2 separate regions of the Homo sapiens genome follow, and region 2 is linked to region 1. The links are contacts of gene promoters, found by promoter capture Hi-C in human tissues and cell types (Jung and others, 2019). All regions are on one chromosome and are shown on one strand. Each heading gives the region's core, a stretch centred on a gene start or on the middle of the fragment in contact. The rest is flanking DNA. Distances are from core to core; before and after follow the strand shown. Region 1 holds the start of OTP (orthopedia homeobox). Region 2 has its middle 56 kb from the start of TBCA.

Region 1 (2,976 bases), core at 181-2,680:
GCTGTCTTCCCCGCGCAGCCTTCCTTCAACCCGTCCTCGGCCCCCTCCGCACCCGCGCTTGTCCTAAGGAAGAAACTCCCAGGGTATTCAGCTGGGTTCCCCAGAATTTGGACAGCCGGGTTGGAATAATATCTCCCGGCCCCTTGCCCTCGCCGCAGCCGGCTCCCGTAGTAAACAGCACAAGCTTTCGTCTCTCCCACAATAAAACACTCCCAGTCCCGGCAATAAAACATGCCTCTGAATCCCTTCCATAAACCGTACCCCAGGCGCCCCAGGAAATCGAGAGCAAATCTTTGGACACAGGGGTGCGGGGGGCAGAAAGAAAATTAAACAATTCCTCGGTTGCTGCGGCACCTGCGCTTCGGCAGCCTGACGAACTGTACCTCCGGCCCTCAGCCGATTCCCTCTTACTTTCGGAAGATGAATAAGCCTCCAAGCTTTCACCCCCCGAAATCAACCCAAATCAGCTCCGCCTCCCCCTCAAATCAGAGAAAGTGTTTGGAAAATGGAGTCACATCCATCACCGAAGATTCCCAATCCGGAAACCCAGAGCTCAGCAACCCAGATAGCATTAAGGAAACTCGAGTGAACTCTATGGACAACCGTGAATCAAACTTTAGAGATTTCAACTTTTCTTTCCAGAGAAATAAAAGGCGCATTCCTCACAGCCATTGGCAACGCTGAGTCCCTTGCAGAAGAGGGGGGGATGACTGTGAGGTTGAATTTGGCTTCTCTCCTTCTCAACCAGCACACTTAGCAAATCCGCCTTGATGGCAGCAGCTTCTCCTTTATGCCAGATTTTTTACAAATTACACCACACTTAGAAAAGGAGGAGAGAAGAAGATGGTGGGGAGAGAGAAACGGGGGGAGGGAAGGAGAAAGAAATCCCAAATCAAAACAAACAGGAGAGGGAAAAAAGAGAGAGAAACACCTCCTAACAAATTATCACGGGGTATATCGCCTTTCGAAAAAAAAAAAAAGGCGGGGGAGGGGGGAAGAGAAAAATAAGAAAAACAAAAAGTAACAACATTCCCCAACTCCTTTCTTGGATCTACATATTCCATAGATTTTTTTTTAAAGGCGATGTTAAATCAAATTAAACTTTAATGCAGCACAATTACTTTTAAAGAAATTAGTCCATTTAGGTCGCATTAAGGTAAAATAAGGAACAAATTGACAATTTCCTGCCCCGGCTTCTCCTGGCTGCCCGGGCGAGAGGCGCGCACTCACCTAGCCTGGCGTCCAGGAGGTCGGCATGAGACAGCATCGCGCACCGCTCCAGGGCGAAAGCTGTTCCCCCCCAAATTTTAGCGGCTTTAAGTTATTTAAAATAGATATAAGCTATAAGCTATACGATATAGATATATATAGATCACCTAAATGAAAGAAAATTCGGTTTGTGGTTAAAAAGGGGGCTTCTTGCATTATAATGTCCTTTAGAGAGACGGGGAGGTGCTTAACAGTTGAATGAACCCGTGAGCAGCTCGGCGAGGGGACCAATCAGGAGGGCAGCCTGCAAATGTCAGCGCCCGGAGAGTCCCCCACTCCGCCCGCCCGCTCGCCTGCGCCCGCCTGAAGGAGGCGGCGGCGGCAGCCCTGGCAGCTCCAGCCCGGAGCAGGAGCTAAAGCAGCCTCAGCCGCCTCGGCCTCGCCCTGAGCTTCTGGGCCCGGCTCCCTCTAGTTCTTCCCTGCGATTTTCTCCAGGCTCCCCTTTCCTTCCCCTTGGCCGGCGCTGCGCGCTTCGAAGGCGTAGCTCTGTGCCTCTGAGCTAACATCTTCCTAGGGCAGGGGCAGAGCAGGGGTCAGAGCGGGCCATGACCCTGGCGTGACCTGAGGGTCGCCCCCACCTGCGCTCTCTGGGCCTGCCGCTCATATTGGCCCGCCAGCCCAGGGCGCGACGAGGGCACACCGCGGCCTTCAGACAACGCCTGGACTTCGCCGCGGCTCAGTAGGCCTGCGCCTAGGGTCCAGGCGCCCTGGCTGTGCCCTGGGGTCTATACGAGCCCCAACCCCACAGTGGGCCTAGAGCGCAAAGAGGAGTCGGCTTCCCTGGCACCGCCAGCGCCCGCTGTCTGCTTTGGGGACCCTCGCGGAGTGTGGGTTCGAGCGCTCTGCACTCTTCTCACCGGGCTTCTTCCCGGCTCCTGCTCTTCCGCTTGGCCCACGCCCGCATCCTCGCCCCTAACTCGCTCTTTTGGTCAAAGTTTCTAAGTTCAGCTCGGCTCCCAACTCCACTTAAGGCTGTAAATAAAGTTAAATGCTCTTTATTTTCCTCTTGAATATGTTAAACTACTTGAACAATTTAAAGTGCTTTGCACAAGTGAAGCGAACCATTTCTAATGTTCTGATTTTTCAGAGCCAGCCAACAACAAAGTTTAGATTAGTAATATATTTCTAACCAGAGTAATTTTCAAGATCATTAGGCATTTATGTAATTAGTGCCAAATCTATAAGCTTTTATTACGATTATTAGAGTAAAATCAGTATAAATTTGTACTAATTTACTACTGTTTAGACTTGGCTGTCAAGCCTAGAGGTTCTTATTGTAAATGATAACTGAGGAAATTAAGTGCAAAATTCTGTACCATTTCTGATCTGCTCCTAAACAATCCGTTTCAATTGTATTTGTAGCAGAACATAATGCCCTTTTAAAGTTATTTGACTTGTATTTTTATTTGCAACACAAGAAAAATGCCCTCTACCCAGTCACAATGAAAACTGATATTTACTACTCCCAACTTGATTAACATTGATTTTTAATTCGAGAGTGATGCAATTAAGATTATTCATTTAGTGCAAATAAACCTTCCACAAAAGGGTGGCCCAATGAAGTCTGTTTTAAATAATACTGAGCAAATGGCTTTTTTTGTTCGCCGTCCAATTGACTTAGACAAAACATTGAAAATGCTGGCTGAGAGCAGATGCGAGAGGAATTGTGTGTGTGTGTGTGTGTGTGTGTGTGTGTGTGTGTGTCCT
Region 2 (3,075 bases), core at 506-3,005, 190 kb after region 1:
TCCCCCAAGTGATACCCTCTGGTGCCTCACTGCAGTCACCTGTAGCTCCCTTCCTTTATCCTCCTATTAAATTGCTCTCTAATCCTACATTTATACAAAATTATATGAATTAACACTTTTTAAGTTAATTTACATATTTATGTTGAATAGGTAATTATTTTTTATCTCTTGCTGCTTAGTAAACCACTCCAAAACTTACTGATTTAAAACAACAATGTATTTTTTTTTACAGTTCTGCAATCTGAGACAGGCTCACCGGGATGATTCTTCTGCTCCATGTGTTGGCTGCTGGGGCTGAAATGTCTGAGATGGCTTCTTTACTTGCCTATTGGGTGCCTCAACAGGGATGGCTAGAACAGCTTGGGGCTGGCTGGGCATCTCTCCCTCCATGCGGCTTTTCTACGTGGCTAGATTGGCTTCTTCATAGCATAGTGCTCTTAGGGCAATTGAACTTCTTACCTGAAGGTTGAGGTTAGCTGGCTTCTAATGGAAGCGGCGGCAGAAGCAGAAGCTGCCATTTCTCCCAAAGGCTAGGGGTGGACCTACCTCATGGACACTTCCCCACCAATGTGTGTCACAAAATCAGCCCAGATTCAAAAGCAGGAGAAAGAGACTCCATCTGTTGATATGAAGATTGGCATACATTTATGGGGGGAAAAGGAACTGGGAACAGCTACCTTGCATATGGAAAAAAATTCAAACAGTGCAAAAGGGTACACAGTATAAAATAAGTCTCTTTGGCAACTCTGTCCCCAAGACACTCCAGTATAACAACTGTTACGCTTTCTGCGTATTTTCCCAGAGATATTCAATATATAAACAAACATATGCTTTATATATATGCTTTTAAATATATTTCTTACATTGATAGTGTGTATAATATAGTTTTATTCCAAGGTTGCCTGCTCTATAGTGTCCATGCTTTGCTTTTCTCATTTAATCATACAGAGGGAGGTAGTTCTATTCTTTGTAATGGCTACATATTTTCCTTTGGTAGATATTTAGCCATTTCTGATCTCTTGTTAATATAATACCAATACTGCTTCGATGAATATCACTATGTGTATTTTAAAAATGTAACTTTGCCAGTAAGAAAAATTCCTGTAAGAAGAATTGCTGAGTCAAATAATATATGCATGTACGATGTTATTAGGTCAATAAAGGTACCATGGGGAGGGACATCTAAATCAGTCATTCTTCACTGGGGAGGGAGAAAGCTTTGCCTACCACGCATGCTCCCTCCTCGCCTCTAGTCCCACTGCCAGCAGGTGTGATAAAACTGCTTCACTAATTGAGAACCACTCCTCTAGACCAACTACCTCATTCAGCAGAGAAGGCTCCTGCAGGTCTGAGAGCCTGACTCACCCTTCAGTGCCTCATCACACTGTGAATTGGTCTTCTCTCGACCAATAAGCACATAAGCAGTCACTGCAGGATCACCTTGATGTAGACAAAGTTTGTCCAAAGGGTGCCTTGTGATCACTAAACCTGAAAGAGCCTCCATGATCCAAAAAACAGAAAAAGATTCTGTCATCAAGCACGCCTGGGAACACTGCACCCTATATCAGTAAGTCACAATCAACAACGGCAAATGAGGACTCTGAGGAGCCCTGCCCCTAAGAAAACTGCTTAACATTGTTTAAATAAAAGAATGGATTTAAACGTCTGCTTCCTAACCTTATTGGACCATATCACCCCTTTTTGTAACACTTGTTTTGCTAACTACCTGTGGAAATAAGCTTTCTGGGAAACATTCTTTGTGGTGTAGAAGAAAAGTTACTGAACTGGGAAACTGGCTCCACTCCCAACCAGCTATGCAGTCACAAACAGTCAAAAATCACTCTGAGCCCCGGGCAGTGTAATTGTCTGGTGGTGGTGGTGGTTTGGTCCTTTTAACCTAGAGGAGCTTCCCCTTCCATTTCCCTTACTGAAGACAACACAGGATGTTATGCCTGACAGGGAACATTGAAGTTCGATCTGCGTATTTGTTCCTTTGAATTCCTTCTAGTCTGTTCTTTAGCTATGTGTATGCTAGTGCAAGTGGATATGACAAGTCCAGTAGGGCTTTTAGCTCAAGTCTTCTTGTTCCTGCTGCTCACCACCCTGACCACTCCCTCCCAAAGCTTCCCCACCTTCAGAAAAGAAAAAAAACCTGGAGTTCAGCAGAAATCAGGCTGACCTCAGGCATGCACACAGCAGACGATGAATATATCTAACTCTCTGTCTTTGCCACTTCTTTTCTGGACAGGCCATAAACAAATTTTGTGCTCAGGGAAAAATGATCTGGTATTCTTATATCAAATTCATATAACCTTTGCAAATGAGAACAGATCTTCAAACCAGGTGTAGTGTGATTTGTTTTGACTCTTTACTGCCTCCAACTGAGATGTTTTACATATACTAATCTAAAGACAATGAATCCTGAGCTGATTTCATGAGTGTAAGTTATTCCAGCCCTGAAATGAAGGGGCCTGCTGTGTGTCAGAACACACAGATGCATAGGCAACCAAGAGCTATTGAGCTAAATATCTTTTTTTATTAATCAGGGCTTCAGAGGTAAAATCTCCTTCTCAGGGACATCAAGGTGATTTGTGACACTCTCCGTACACCTTTATATTCACAAACCAATGAGTACATCACACCAATCTCTCGTTTTCTCATCAGTGGCAGACATAAAACACAGGTAATCTTCATGCTACTCAGATGTTTCAATTAACTGTGAAAACCCTTTGGCTTATATTATATAACATTTGTGAGTACTTCATTTCCTTTCAGCTTAAGCATCAACTAGAACACACACTTAAAATCTTGTTACATTTCTTTTAGAAATTGATGCAATTAAATGGTAGAGCTGCCTATACTAAAGACAAAAAGAATGAACTCTGAGGACACCTGAGATCTTTCTTTTTGTGGTCCTCTTAGGTGTCCGATTCATGGTTTAGAAAGGCGGGGTCTGTTTTTATATTCACCAAGAACACAGGGGCCTGAAAGTGGGAAATCCAAACACATGTGTTTACCAAGAATTCACCTCTTTGCACACATTGTATGCAGCAAGTACCTATGTTAGTGAATTTT

What was found. Contacts are between HindIII fragments. The study calls those that stand out against the background at their distance.
Region 2: a contact is called between a fragment that was not itself captured here and the fragment with the promoter of OTP in region 1, in 2 of the 25 tissues and cell types used here (H1 embryonic stem cells and pancreas).

Annotation. Positions count from the first base shown.
Region 1 is chr5:77,637,283-77,640,258 of GRCh38, forward strand. OTP (orthopedia homeobox) reads right to left here and starts at 1,431. Exons shown (of 3, transcript NM_032109.3): 1 at 1,231-1,431. The coding sequence starts at 1,267. RefSeq lists enhancers at 1,417-1,973, 1,974-2,528. The HindIII fragment of the contact is 12,469 bases long and covers 1-2,924 here.
Region 2 is chr5:77,831,245-77,834,319 of GRCh38, forward strand. No RefSeq gene overlaps it. Among named protein-coding and RNA genes, the nearest start is that of TBCA, 56 kb to the left of the region's middle. The HindIII fragment of the contact is 3,889 bases long and covers 1-3,075 here.